Linked DNA regions of Homo sapiens: region 1 is linked to region 2. Evidence: promoter capture Hi-C in human tissues and cell types (Jung and others, 2019). All regions are on one chromosome and are shown on one strand. The core of a region is centred on a gene start or on the middle of the fragment in contact, and the rest is flanking DNA. Distances in the headings are between cores, read along the strand shown.

Region 1 (7,030 bases), core at 1,760-4,259, 51 kb after region 2:
TGTAGGAAAGCCTTCAAACAAAGTGAACACCTTATTCAGCATCAAAGAATTCATACTGGAGAAAAACCATATAAATGTAAGGAATGCAGAAAAGCCTTCAGACAGCCTGCACACCTTGCTCAGCATCAGAGAATTCATACTGGAGAGAAACCCTATGAATGTAAAGAATGTGGCAAAGCCTTCAGTGATGGCTCGTCTTTTGCTCGACATCAGAGATGTCACACTGGCAAAAGACCCTATGAATGTATTGAGTGTGGGAAGGCTTTTAGGTATAACACATCTTTTATTCGTCACTGGAGGAGTTATCATACTGGAGAGAAGCCTTTTAATTGCATTGATTGTGGGAAAGCCTTCAGTGTTCACATAGGACTTATTCTGCATAGGAGAATTCATACAGGAGAGAAACCTTACAAATGTGGTGTGTGTGGAAAAACCTTCAGCTCGGGTTCATCCCGTACTGTACATCAGAGAATTCATACAGGAGAGAAACCTTATGAATGTGATATATGTGGGAAAGATTTTAGCCATCATGCATCACTCACTCAGCATCAAAGAGTACATTCTGGAGAGAAACCGTATGAATGCAAGGAATGTGGGAAAGCCTTTAGGCAGAATGTACACCTTGTTAGTCATTTGAGAATTCATACTGGTGAAAAACCCTATGAATGTAAAGAATGTGGAAAAGCTTTTAGAATCAGTTCACAGCTGGCTACTCATCAGAGAATTCATACTGGAGAGAAGCCTTATGAATGTATTGAATGTGGAAATGCTTTCAAACAGAGATCACACCTTGCCCAACATCAGAAAACTCATACAGGAGAGAAACCTTATGAGTGTAATGAATGCGGGAAAGCCTTCAGCCAAACTTCCAATCTTACTCAACATCAAAGAATTCATACTGGAGAGAAACCCTATAAATGTACTGAATGTGGAAAGGCTTTTAGTGATAGCTCATCCTGTGCTCAGCATCAAAGACTCCACACTGGCCAAAGGCCCTATCAGTGTTTTGAATGTGGGAAGGCGTTCAGAAGAAAGTTATCCTTAATTTGTCATCAAAGAAGTCATACTGGAGAAGAACCTTAAGAATGTAGTGCATGTGGCCAAGCCTTTAGTTATCACCAATCCCCTACTGTTAATCAGAGATGTCCCACTGGATAAAAAACATATAAATGTAAGAAATGTAGAAAAACCTTCAGCCAGGAGGCTGGCAAGATGGCCGAATAGGAACAGCTCTGATCTGCAGTTCCCAGTGAGATCAACGCAGAAGGTGGGTGCTTTCTGTATTTCCAGCTGAGGTACCTGGCTCATCTCATTGGGACTGGTTAGACAGTGGGTGCAGCCCACGGAGGGTGAGCTGAAGCAGGGTGGGGCGTAACCTCACCTGGGAAGTGCAAGGAGTCGGGGATCTCCCTCCCCTAGCCAAGGGAAGCCATGAGGGACTGTGCCATGAGGAATGGTGCACTCCGGCACAGATACTACGCTTTTCCCATGGTCTTCGCAACCCACAGACCAGGAGATCCCCCTTGGGTGCCTATGCCACCAAGGCCCTGGGTTTCAAGCACAAAACTGGGCGGCCATTCGGGCAGACACCGAGCTAGCTGTAGGAGTTTTTTTGATAGCCCAGTGGCACCTGGAATGCCAGTGAAACAGAACCGCTTACTCCCTTGTTAAGGGGGCTGAAGCCGGGGAGCCAAGTGGTTCCCATGCCCACTGAGCCCAGCAAGCTAAGATCCACTGGCTTGGAATTCTCCCTGCCAGCACAGCAGTCTGAAGTCAACCTGGGATGATCAAGCTTGGTGGGGGGAGGGGCGCCAACCATTACCAAAGCTTGAATAGGTGGTTTTCCCCTCACAGCGTAAACAAAGCCATGGGGAAGTTCCAGCTGAGCAGAGCCCTCCACAGCTCAGCAAAGCCTCTGTAGCCAGACTGCCTCTCTAGATTCCTCCTCTCTGGGCAGCGCATCTTTGAAAAAAGTGCAGATAAAACCCTCATCTCCCTGGGACAAAGCACGTGGGGGAAAGGGGTGGCTGTGGGCACAGCTTCAGCAGACTTAAACATTCCTGCCTGCCAGCTCTGAAGAGAGCAGCAGTTCTTCCAGCACAGCGCTTGAGCTCTGCTAAGGGACAGACTGCCTCCTCAAGTGGGTCCCTGACCCCCATGCCTCCTGACGGGGAGACACCTCCCAGCAGGGGTCCACAGACACCTCATACAGGAGAGCTCTGGCTGGCATCTGGTGGGTGCCCCTCTGGGACAAAGCTTCCAGAGGAAGGAACAGGCAGCAATCTTTGCTGTTCTGCAGCCTCCACCGGTGATACCCAGGCAGATATGGTCTGGAGTGGACCTCCAGCAAACTCCAGCAGACCTGCAGCCGAGGGGCCTCACTGTTAGAAGGAAAACTAACAGGAATATAATCAACATCAACAAAGGACATCCACACAGAAACCCCATCTGAAGGTTACCAGCATCAAAGACCAAAGGTAGATAAATTCACGAAGATGAGGAGAAACCAGTGCAAAAAGCCTGAAAATTCCAAAAACCAGAATGCCTCTTCTCCTCCAAAGGATCACAACTCCTTGCCGGCAAGGGAACAAAACTGGATAGAGAATGAGTTTGACAAATTGACAGAAGTAGGCTTCAGAAGGTGGGAAATAACAAACTCCTCTGAGCTAAAGGAGCATGTTCTAACCCAATGCAAGGAAGCTAAGAACCTTGAAAAAAGGTTAGAGGAATTGCTAACTAGAATAACCAGTTTAGAGAAGAACATAAATGACCTGATGGAGCTGAAAAACACAGCATGAGAACTTCGTGAAGCATACAGAAGAAAAACCTTCAGCCAGATTGAATGCTTTACAGGGAAGAATTCATACTGCAGAGCGGTCTTAACAATGTAAAGAATGTGCAAATGTCCTCAGACAAGATGCACACCTTGCTCATTAGTGAGTTCATTTCAGGCAGCCAGCTCTTCCTCACCCACTACATCACCAAGTCCTGTGGATATATCTGCTAAATATTTTTGGAATTTATCCACTTCTTTTGGTTCCCCAGTCCAAAACACAGTCATTTCACCTGGACTATTTCAATCATTACACAGGTGTCCAACCTTTTGTCTTCCCTGGGCCACATTGGAAGAAGAAAAATTGTCTTGTGCCACACATACAATACACTAACATTAACAATAGCTGATGAGCTAAGAAAAAAAAAAAGTCTGTGCATAGTTTTAGTGATACACCACCTCCGATAAGCAAAAAAGTCCTCACATTCAATGGGTTGCATACCCATGAATTCTAAAACTTCATCCTCTTTTGTCCCTTTCGAGTTAACATTACAGCCACAGTGACCTTTCAAAAATGCAAATTAAGTTACTCTTAAAACTCTAGTTAAAATACTTGATGTACATAAAGTGCTTAGCAAAATGACCAACTCATACTAAGTGCTTAGTAAATGTTAGATAAGTATTCTCCAGAATTGATGTAAATTATTTTTAAACAGTGCATTCTTGAAAGCAGTATGGCAGTCATAAAAATTTTGGAACCAAAACAGTATCTTTTTTTAAGCTAAAAAAAAAGTTTTAAATGGTGTCTTTCTATGTTGCCCAGGGTGGTCTCAAACTCCTGTGCTCAAGTGACCCTCCCACCTCATTCTCAAGTGGCTGCAATTACAGGCAACCAGCCTGACTTAAAACAGTATCTTAAGGTAGATGGTGATTAGCACATGTAGTATGCTTAACATTTAATATTATAATAAGACATCACAGCGGCTGTCTCATGATTAAGGCTGTGTTCCCTTGTTGGTGAGGAAATTAATTATGACTTGATAAATAGAACATGTTTTAAGAAGTGGCTATATAGCTCTGGATAAAACGAACAAAAGAATTAGAATTCCTGCGGGGAATATATACAAGACTTTATTTAGTCAAGTAAAAAAAAATCACTAATGTTTAACTGAAGAAAGAGAAATTGAATAATATAGTTCTATTTCAACATGTGGGTTCACAGATTTATTCTAACCTTCCAAGTAAAGTTGTTCCACTAGTAAAGTTGTTCTGGAGTATATTTTTTTTAAAAAAAACACTTAAAATGTTCCACTTCTTTCATGAGGCTAAGTCAACTCTGATATCAAACCAAGGGGAAAGAAATGAAATTATAGGTGAGTTTACTTAGTTATATACAAAAGGAAATTATTAGCCTCTGCTGATGGAGAACAGAGGCTGTGAATAAATGGAGATCCATAACATGATCCTACATGAATGTTTCAATATTGTAATCCTGTAAGTTACTTTTACATTGACAGTTCTGAAATTCATGTTGAGTGTTAATTAGGCAGGAATCAGAAGGGAGGTTTTGTAGAAGGTCGTATCCATGGGTTTTTTATATTTGAAAAGTGTTTTCGATGTATCATTGGGGGAGATTAAATGTCTTTGACAGTTGTCCAACTAGAAATAAAGTCAGCATCCCATTTGACTCCTTACACAGAAGTTCATTCTATACTCATTACAGATGTAAGAGGTTAAGATGGTAGAGGAGAATGTAGAGTATTTCTGTGCCTTTAGGTTCAGGAGGTCTTTGATAAGCAGGACAAGGTCCAGAAGCCATGAAGAGAGAATGACAGGACTGTGTAGAAGATTTAAACCTTTTTCATGGCGTAAGATACTGTATGCAAAGTTAAAAGGCATATGACAGGCTGAGAGATATCTTAAACATACATTAGAAAGGATATAGCCCTTGAAAAAGGGCTGTTGGAAAGCAGCAAGGATAAGGTGCACAGTCTTGCAGAGCATGTCAACAAAATTTATTGGATGAAGAAATTAAAATGGTTAAATAGAAGAAGTTCTCAACCTCACTAATGATCAGATAAGTGCAGATTGTAAAAGTCCTCATCCCCACCAACACAAACCAGCAGAAATTTTATGTGAATGTGAAGTTTGGATAATATCCAGTATTGTCGCAGGTGTGAGAAACCGTATTTTCAAATATTGAGAGGGTAAATTAGAGGAAAGCCATTTTAGAGGGCAATGTGGTGTTACCTGTCAGCATTTTGAATATAATTACCCTTTGCCACAATTCTACACCTAGTCAGTTATGTTCTCAAAAAGCACAAGTGCAGAAATATAGATGCATAAGCAAATGTGTTGCAGAATTGTGAAAAATTTGGAAAAAATGTTTAGTGCTATTAAAGTTATGGGTTACTTAAGTTACAGAAAATCAGTTTAGTAGATCACTGTGTAGTTACGGAAAATGAGATGGATCTCTACTCAAAGATGTCTTGCAGTTTATGAACTGAGATGTAACTTCATGACTAACATGATGACATCGTTATTAACTACATAAACTTTATAAAGCTTAAAAAATGCATTCATAGTATCTTATTTGTTGTTTTTGTTTACAATACAAATAGAAACCATGCACACAGATACAAGAACTCCTTCCCTGTTGTTTGTTTTTGTTTTGTTTTGTTTTTGGTAGCGGGCGGGGTGAGCTGCTCTCATGTTATTCCATGAGTTTTTTTATGTGTTGCTTGTTGTGCATGGTTCATTTTTTGTTTTTATTTTTTGAGACGGAGTCTCGCTCTGTCACCAGGCTGGAGTGCAGTGGTGCGATCTCGGCTCACTGCAACCTCCACCTCCCGGGTTCAAGCGATTCTCCTGCCTCACCCTCCTGAGTAGCTGGGACTACAGGATAGTCTCGATCTCTTGACTCATGATCTGCCCACCTTGGCCTCCCAAAGTGCTGGGATTACAGGCATAAGCCACCGCTTCCAGCCTGTATATGGTTCATTTAAATCAAATGAGATACTCCTTGAGACATGGGGGAAGTTGAATGTGAGTTATCCTTTGGCCAAGACTTAAAGATGGTATATGAGTTTGTCTGCTGTGCTCCCTAGACCTGACCCGATTCATGCTTCTGCCAGGTTGTAAACCTGTTTTGTCCTGCTGAATTGGCAGAGCAGTCCCAAAAGAACTGTAACTAAGGTATGCACATACTGAAGAAAGGGATATAGTATTTCTGGGAGAGCCCTAAGGAAGGTAGACTTCTGTTGCAGTCATTCTGAAGAATTATGGGTGGTGATTCTTGCACAAGCCCAGCTCATACATCTAGGCTAGATGATGCTTAGATATCTTTATCAGTGCCTGGGGATGTTTTAAGGCCTCTGGTTGGGTTTAAGCCTGCTGGGAGAAACCTCGGCTAAAAACAGTTGAAAAGCTTTTCCTGATCCTGTGCTTGAGAGCAGCATTTTACCTCTAGGGAGTGCTTTACTTGCCATCCATAGGATGCTAGGCACATTTCAAAGAAGGACTGTTTTAGGAAAGTGGTTTCTTATCTCTTAAATGTATTGAGGCTCATTTTATGGCCTATCATATGGTCTATCTTGGAGAAAGTCCCATGCGCTGTTGAATACAATGTGTATTCTGTGGTTGTTGGATGAAATGTTCTGTATATATCTGTTAAGTCCATTTGTTCCAAGGTATAGTTTAATTCCATTGTTTCTTTGTTGACTTTCTTTTTTTAAAAGTTTGAGATGGAGTTTCACTCTTGTCACCCAAGCTGGAGTACAATGGCATGATCTCAGCTCACTGCAACCTCTGCCTCCCAGGTTCAAGTGATTCTTCTGCCTCACCCTCCCGAATAGCTGGGATTACAGGTGCCTGCCACCACACCCAGCTAATTTTTGTACTTTTATTAGAGACAGGGTTTCACCATGTTGGCCAGGCTGGTCTTGAACTCCTCACCTCAGGTGATCTGCCTGCCTCAGCCTACCCAAGTGCTAGGATTACAGGCATGAGCCACTGTGCCAGACCTCTTTGTTGGCTTTCTGTCTTGATGACCTATCTAGTACTGTCAATGGAGTATTGAAGTCCCCCACTATTATTGTGTTGATCTCTATCTCATTTCTTAGGTCTATTGGTAATTGTTTTGCAAATTTGGGAGCTCCAGTGTTAGGTGCATATATGTTTAGGATTGTGATATTTTCCTGCTGGACAAGGCCTTTTACCATTATATAATATCCCTCTGTCTCTTTTAACTGCTGTTGC
Region 2 (7,688 bases), core at 822-3,321:
ATGGTAGGCACTCACTGGCTGAATGAATGAATGCATCTCGGAGCTTACCCGGGCTGCAGGCCGTTTCTTCTCATCTCAGAACACTATCCTTTTATCATCTCTCCGTGCCCCGCCTTCCCCAGCTCCCTTACTCTTCTCCCTGTCATCATGCCTTCGGTCTGTCCATGCGCTTGCATCACGGTCCTCTCAATCAGAGTGATTTTGCCCCTGCAGGGGACATCTGACAGTGTCTGGAGACATTTTTTTTTCGCTTGTCACAACCCAGAGGGAGGCGCGGTGTGCTACTGGCCTGGTAAATAGAGCCCAGGGTTGCTGCACAACATCCTATAATACATAGAATAGCAGCCCCTCCCACCTCCCAACAAAAAACTATCTGGCCCCAAATGTCACAGTGCCAAGGCTGTGAAACACTGGTCTGGACAGAAACATTTCCAGACCCATGTGTTATATGGAAACATCCCTTAGTCCCTGACACTTCAAAGTTCTGTTCTTGACCCCATGGGCTCCCTAGGGACATCTCCATCAGGAAGATCCTTTGTTCCTGACCCCACCTCCTCTACCCTAATGCTGCCCTCCCAGGACCCTGCCTACACAATTCTGAACCTAAGCCCTGATCTAGACGTCCAAGTTATTTTACCTCTGGACCTGCAACCCTTACTCTGGGGCTCATCCTTTTGCATTTCTACCTATGGATTTTATTCTCCAGGTGTGGGACGCCTGCGGTTATTATGCTAATAATAAAACGATGATCATTGATGTGGCACTTCCTTGTGCCAAGTTCTACTTATGCTCACCATAAACCTGAGGTTGGTTCTGTTATTACTACTGTTTTACAAGTGAACCGAGGAGTGGTGGACTTAAGTAAGCTCTCTCAGTCACACAGCCAGCCAGTGGTGAAACCAGGAGTCAACACCAGACAGCGGGGCGCCACAGTCCATGCTCTTATTTTTCCAAGCTACCTTGGTAGGAAGGGGACACAACCATACTTAGCGTCAGTGGAGGGCTCTGTCCTCCACTCAAATGTACACATGCAGAAAACTGACGACGCAGGTGGTTGGCGGGGGCAGCGCACCACTGCTCAACTGGAGATGGTCAGATGCCCTGGTATGTGGACAAAGATAGCCCAGTCCGAAGCTCAGAGATGCAAAGTCCTCCAGTATTCACCACTACCTCTGCCTCTGTATAGGGTCAAAGAAAAACGACCACCAGCACCATAACCAACACCTAAACACGGTGATTAGTATGTGACAAGCTCTGTGCAGGGTGTTTCAGCTACGTCATCCCATTTAATCTTCCCAATAACACCCAGGCAGGTGCTATTAATATGCTATTTTACCAAGGAGGAAAGTCATGCACAATTAAACAGTTCCACAGATTTCCAGGGCAGCCCATCACATCTTAGAGCTGCTAAGAATTCTTCCCCTGTGGGCCTCCATTTCCATGGTTACAGTGAGATATACACCAGAAAGGCACAGTCACACACTCATAACCGCAAAGCCACTGACGCTAAGTGGCAGACAGACGCCCAGGCAAGTCACACAGTAACCCAAGGCTACAATAAACGCCCACATCAGCCTGACACTGACACACGCACACACTCCAGAAACACAAATCTTCACAGTCAGCGTCACACACCCACTCCCGGCTTCCCAATGGCTCCATTGTTTCCTTCGCGTGGGTCACGCAGCGATACACATCCGCGGTCCCGACATAGCTCCCTCACACACAGGCACACACGGCTCGCCTCACACGCGGCGCCAACTTCACACTTGGGCGCACAAGCCCCGAGAACCACAGCAGCGAAGGGCGCAAACCCCACGCCGTGGCGGGCCGAGAACCCACGCAGGCGCGAGCCCACCGCCCACGCAAGCACCCGCGCAGACGCCCACGCCATCGTGGATGCGCAAACCCACGCGCGCCTTGGCAGGAACGTCCACGCAGTGGCGGGCGCGCCGCCCACGCCCTCAGACACACCCACACTCTCGCCAGCCCCCTTACCTCGGTCTTCCCGGGCTCAGACCCCGGCGGCGACCACCGAGACAGCCGAGCAGGGACTCAGCGCCTGCGCACTCCCCTCCGGGACCCCGGGACCGCGCGCTGCACCCCCCTTCACACACGCACCACGCATGCGGGCGCGTGGCCCCGCCCCCAAACAAGGCCACGCGGCGTGCGCTCACCCGCCTCTCGGGGACAGTACCACCAGCCCCGGCCTGAGGCCCCGACCCCTCAGCGCCACACGCACAAGCGCGTTCGCACGATTGGTGCAGGCGGACGCGCGAGGTCCCGCGCCTGCGCACACCCCCGAGGCTGGCACGCACACCGGTCTCCTAGGGGACTGGCGCCTGGCCCTGCTTTTCATCCTCTCAGGAGATCACGTGTGGACACTGAGGCCCTTCCTCGAGCTCTTTAACCAAACCCAACCTCCCCAATTCGCCGCCTTCCCCGCTCCCACAACCACACGTTCCCGTGTGAGGGCTTATTGCCTCCAGCCAGCCAGCGTCCTTCGCCCCCACATTCACGAGGTTTGGAGCCGGCCTCACCCGCGGAGGCGGACACCGCCCACCCGCGCGTGCGCACTACGCAGTCATCCTGCGACCTCCAGAATCCACCGGGGTGCAGCGAGGCTGTGGAAAGTCCCACCCAGAACGTGAGGTGAAGAAGGCTTGGGCTGCGCTGGTTCTGCTCTGTCCGGGTCGGAGATGAACTGACCCGGGAGAGCAGCGGAGGGATGTTTCTTTTGGCCAACAGTGGGGACTCACCTGCACGTTTTGCGAAGAGGCCCACAGTCCTTTGCGTGGCGCTCGGACTACATTTCCCAACGGCCCCTGCACGCCCTGGGGGCTGTTCCATGCGGTGTTGCGCCTGCGTAGCCGGCGGGCTGGCAGTGAGACTGACTGCGTCGGGGTTGAGACTGGGTGGATGAGGCTCACCCCGGCGGGGAGAAGGGACGAGGAGGGGCGGACAGCGGAAGGTCCGGGAGTGTCCGCCATAAAGTCGTTTGAGGTGACCGTTGCGTAATTGTGAGTCTGTGAGAGAAGATGTGAAGTATGGCCTCGTCCCGGTCATCTGGGCGTGCGGGTCCCGGGTTTTGATCGCGCGTTTGTGTAGGTGAGACCCACATTGTGTTACCCTGAACATGTGTGAGGACGAACCTTTGTGTTTTCTTATACGTGTGTCTCTGAGGCGATTTTTGTGGTTTTGTACGTGGCGGGGGGCACTGATTTTGAATATGTGTGTATGTTCTGGACATTTGTTTAGCTTCTGCATCCACTTCTGCGGAAGGGCAGAGTTGAGTAGGTGGGAACAGGTACTGTGTGGCCCCACAAAGCCTGAACTATTTACTGTTGACTCTAGAGCCCAGTTTTTGCGGTGTGTACGTCTCTGTGGGGAACCACACATTTTGAATATGTATACTTGTGTATATTTACGTCTATTCTATGACTGCTTTTGCACAATGGCAGGGTTCAGTACTTGCAGCAGAGATCTTGTGGCCCATAAAGCCTAAAATACTATCCGACTAAGGTTTCGAGCCGTAGCCAGTTTTTGTGGATGAGTGTTGTGTGTGTGTGGGAAGCCAGTGATTGATTGATTGATTGATTGATTTGGGACGGAGTCTCGCTCTGTCGCCCAGGCTGGAGTGCAGTGGCGCGATCTCGGCTCACTGCAACCTCCGCCTCCAGGTTCAAGCCATTCTTCTGCCTCATCCTCCCTAGTAGCTGGGACTACAGGCGCCCGCCACCACGCCCGGCTAAGTTTTTTGTATTTTTAGTAGATTCGGGGTTTCACCATGTGGGCTCTTGACCTCGTGATCCGCCCGCCTCGGCCTCCCAAAGTGCTGGGATTACAGGCGTGAGCCACCGCGACCGGCCAAGGAAAGCCAGTGTTTTTGACTCTGTGTGTGTGTACCCGCCTGTGTGTTGAGACCCAGTTTTTGTAGTTGCATAGGTGGGTATATGTGTGAGGGGAACCCAGGGCCTGTGATTTCTTTCTTCCCAGGTGACTCTGAGCAAGTTTTGGGGACTAGGTAGTAGGGAGAATGTGTGAGGAACTAGTTTTGGTTTCCCATTTCTGTGATTAGGTAGTAGCAATAATAAAAATAAAAGCTAACAGATACTACTATTAGGACTTTTACCATTACCTCTGTGACTAGCAGCTAGCACTTACTGATTGTTGTCCCTGGTCAAAAGTGAATTTTTCCATTTAAGGTTTTCTTTAATCCTGTAAGCCGTTCTCTGAGTTGTTCCTTGGAGCAAGTTTCTTTCTAGACTGGAGATTGTTCTAAATACCTGGTAATACTAGAATAAGGGGTGTGGTCAAGAGATCCAAGAAATCTTAGGATAAATCTGTCACTTGGCAGTTTCTTTGTTTTCTTTAAACCACCTCCCAAGAAAGTATGTCATCCTTTCTGCTGTTTTAGGGGCATGTTAGTGCGAAAATCTGGGAAAAAGCTTTATGCCTCAGACTGTCCTAGTTCAGAGAAACCAGAGTGTGTGGGTCGGATGTCTTGGCTCCTGATCAGGCTCTGTTGTGCCCATTCTCCGAATAAAGCAACTATCTCCCAAGACACCCATGAGTTTTCTAAGACAGTTTGTCCCAGAGCCCAGGTCCAGAATCTAGTCCTGGTCTTGGATTTGGTCAGACCTTCCCTCACTCTCACCTCAGGACTCCCCACCACTTCCCCCCCTGCCCCAGGAACCCATGGGAATTACAGGCATAAATTAAATACCTGATCCTATGACAGCTCCAGAGTATCTGGAATCTTTTTTTTTTTTTTTTGAGACAGTGTCTTGCTCTGTCGCCCAGGCTGGAGTGCAGTGGCGTGATCTCTGCTCACTGCAAGCTCCGCCTCCTGGGTTCAGGCCATTCTTCTGCCTCAGCCTCCCGAGTAGCTGGGACTGCGAGTGTCCATCACCACACCCAGCTAATTTTTTTGTACTTTTAGTAGACACGGGGTTTCACCTTGTTAGCCATGATGGTTTCACTCTCCTGACTTCGTGATCTGCCCGCTTCAGCCTCCCAAAGTGCTGGGATTACAGGCGTGAGCCACCACGCCCAGCCCAAGATTTAATTTGTTAAAAAAAAAAAAAAAAAAAAAAAAAGTAGGGTAAAGACGCTAGAAAGTCTAGAGAGGAAGGAGGGATTATTTTACACAGGATGGTCAGGGGAGGCCACTTTGATAGGTGGCATTTAGCAGTGAGGCTTCCTGAACTCAGCATGACTGCTCCGCTTGGCTCAGATTCCAGCTCTGTCCACTGTAGTTGAGGAATTATCCCTAGACAGAGAATGGGGAGATAAAGAGGCTCAGCTTGTTAACAGGTTCCCCTCTCACATGAATCTTTTGTCCACTGCCTCAAAACTGCCCCGATATAGTTTAATTTCGTAGTATGCTATTGTGTCATGCTGCAACTCTTTCAGCTCCAAAAGGGATGGCACCAGGTTCAAGAGGCTGAAGAAGAGACTCAGATCCAGGAAATGAGGCATAGGTTATATGTGAGATGGAACTTACATACAGAGTGGTCCAGTGGTGGTAGGCTGAACAGGAGAACTGCCACCGCCTGCAGAAAGCATGGACTTTGTATAGCATTTTCACTTAATACTCTCCTCCTAACAGCATCCACATGGCAACCCTCATTTAACCCAAGACAAAGAGCCTCAGCCCCCATAGGGCCAGCGTTCCACAGGACAGGCCAGGGACTCATTTAACCCAAGACAAAGAGCCTTAATCCCCTATAGGGCCCACGTTCCACAGGACAGGCCAGGGACTCAGGCATTTATCATAGATAAAGATGAATCTCCATGTTGGTCATATTTGGAACTCCGAACATGTATTCAGGTGCGTCTGCCATGCTGGGTCATTTTCAGAGTATGCTTAAGTTATTGCTATCAGTGTCTACCATACACAGTTGGATCTACCATACATAGTTGCATCTGCCATATGCTATGATAGGAAGACTTGTCTAGTACAAGCTTCTGTATCATAGCCCATAGCAGAACTCATATTTGTGAGTATTGTTTGAAGGGATTAAGCAGAGAGAATTGAGTCAGGATATCACTGGGGAGGTATACAGTTTATTTGTGGGATTTCAAGGGCCTGAATTGTGACAACAGAATAAAGTTCTTGTGGGAGAAATATTTTCAGAGGATTTGAGAGCATGGTGTTGAAGAGTTAAGGAAACAGCATATATCTTTTCGTGCTAGATGCTTACATGCAAATGAATCTCCTTATGCTGTCACAAATGTATGCTTCTCTCTCCCTCCCTTTCACTTATCAGTCACATCCCACTAGTCCTGGAGCTTCTCCTACCCTGAGGTCAGGCATGAACCCTGGTGTGTAGTTTTGCTCAAATGCTTACGATCGATAACCCAGTTGTGCACCAGGTTTCTTTATATCTTGAAGTTATCTACTGAACACATGAAAAATAAATTCAGCAAATTATAGAAACTACGAGACACTGCTGTCTACCCTTTGACAAACATTTACTCAGTGTTGTGTGCTGGCTTATTTGCATTGTGTTTTGCAAAAGTCTTAAAATCACAGTCATATCTAGGTTTTTTTCAAGCAATTCTCCTGCCTCAGCCCCCTGAGTAGCTGGGATTACAGGCACCTGCCACCATGCCCGGCTAATTTTTGTATTTTTAGTAGAGACAGGGTTTCACCATGTTAGCCAGGTTGGTCTTGAAATCCTGGCCTCGATGGTATACACATTCCTATGGAAGGCAAGCATTATCTTGTGAGGTACATAGCTGATATGATGCTTCTGCATGGTCTTCAAAGAAGGGGGGCCTTATCTTTCAAGAAACTGAATGAAACTCTTCTTAAAGCAAAAATAAGGCTAAAGAGAATATGACTGTTTAAGATCTACAACTTCATCTGCTTATATGTCCCATCTCCGGTCCTAAAGCCAACTCTTTCCTCATCAAGGGTCCAACTTTGGCTTGGGAGACTTGTGTAGTTGAGAAATTGAGCCTGAGTCACCTCTTCCAATAAGTGCATATGCTCGGACTTGAGCTCTGCCTGCCCTCTGACTGCAAGAGATGACAGTTTCTTTAAATGCTCCTTTTGATATTCACGCTTTAGAATGCTGATTAAGGTATCTGAGATTGTTATTTTCTCTGCTCTTTGCATTAGTAGCACTTTTTAAAAGGCACCTATTCCACAGTCCTAATGGTTGCTATTTCTGCTGTACTAATCAAAGGCTAGAGGTACTGCACATGGCAGGGCATTCTTCTGCACCTATATCCCATCACAGTATATAATCTTAGCAATTGTACTGTGAAAGCTGGCCAGGAGCTGTCTGTCCTTTTGATGTCCGTTTCCTTGATGCTTAGTGATATAGAGCATTTCTCATATACCTGCTTGCCATTTGTGTGTCTTATTTTGAGAAGTATCTATTCAGGTTTTTTCCCATTTTAAAATCAGATTATTTAGTTTTTTGCTATCGAATTGAGTTCCTTACATATTCTGAATATTAATCCCTTGTTAGATGCATGGTTTGCAAATTACTCTTTCCCAATCTGTAGGTTGTCTCTTTACCTGCCCAAGGCTTATGGCTGCCAGTGAATTGATTTGAGGCTGCCTGCCAGTGAATTGATTTAGGGCTGAGGCCATTTTAGTCAGCCAGCAGTGAAGTGGTCTGGGACATGGGACCCTCCTGTGTGGGTGGCAGATTCTCTTCTGGCCTGGGGTG

The links. The method cuts DNA at HindIII sites, captures the fragments that hold promoters and counts their contacts. A contact is called where the count stands out against the background at its distance.
Region 1: a contact is called between a fragment that was not itself captured here and the fragment with the promoter of ZNF667 in region 2, in 10 of the 25 tissues and cell types used here (H1 embryonic stem cells, IMR-90 fibroblasts, adrenal gland and 7 more).

The regions. Positions count from the first base shown.
Region 1 is chr19:56,524,866-56,531,895 of GRCh38, forward strand. It overlaps ZNF471 (zinc finger protein 471), which reads left to right. Exons shown (of 5, transcript NM_020813.4): 5 at 1-5,347. The coding sequence ends at 1,083. Among named protein-coding and RNA genes, the nearest start is that of ZFP28-DT, 10 kb to the right of the region's middle. RefSeq lists an enhancer at 783-1,982. The HindIII fragment of the contact is 5,520 bases long and covers 250-5,769 here.
Region 2 is chr19:56,475,274-56,482,961 of GRCh38, forward strand. ZNF667 (zinc finger protein 667) reads right to left here and starts at 2,072. Exons shown (of 7, transcript NM_001321356.2): 1 at 1,999-2,072. ZNF667-AS1 (ZNF667 antisense RNA 1) reads left to right here and starts at 2,601. Exons shown (of 2, transcript NR_036521.1): 1 at 2,601-3,108. The HindIII fragment of the contact is 11,770 bases long and covers 1-5,207 here.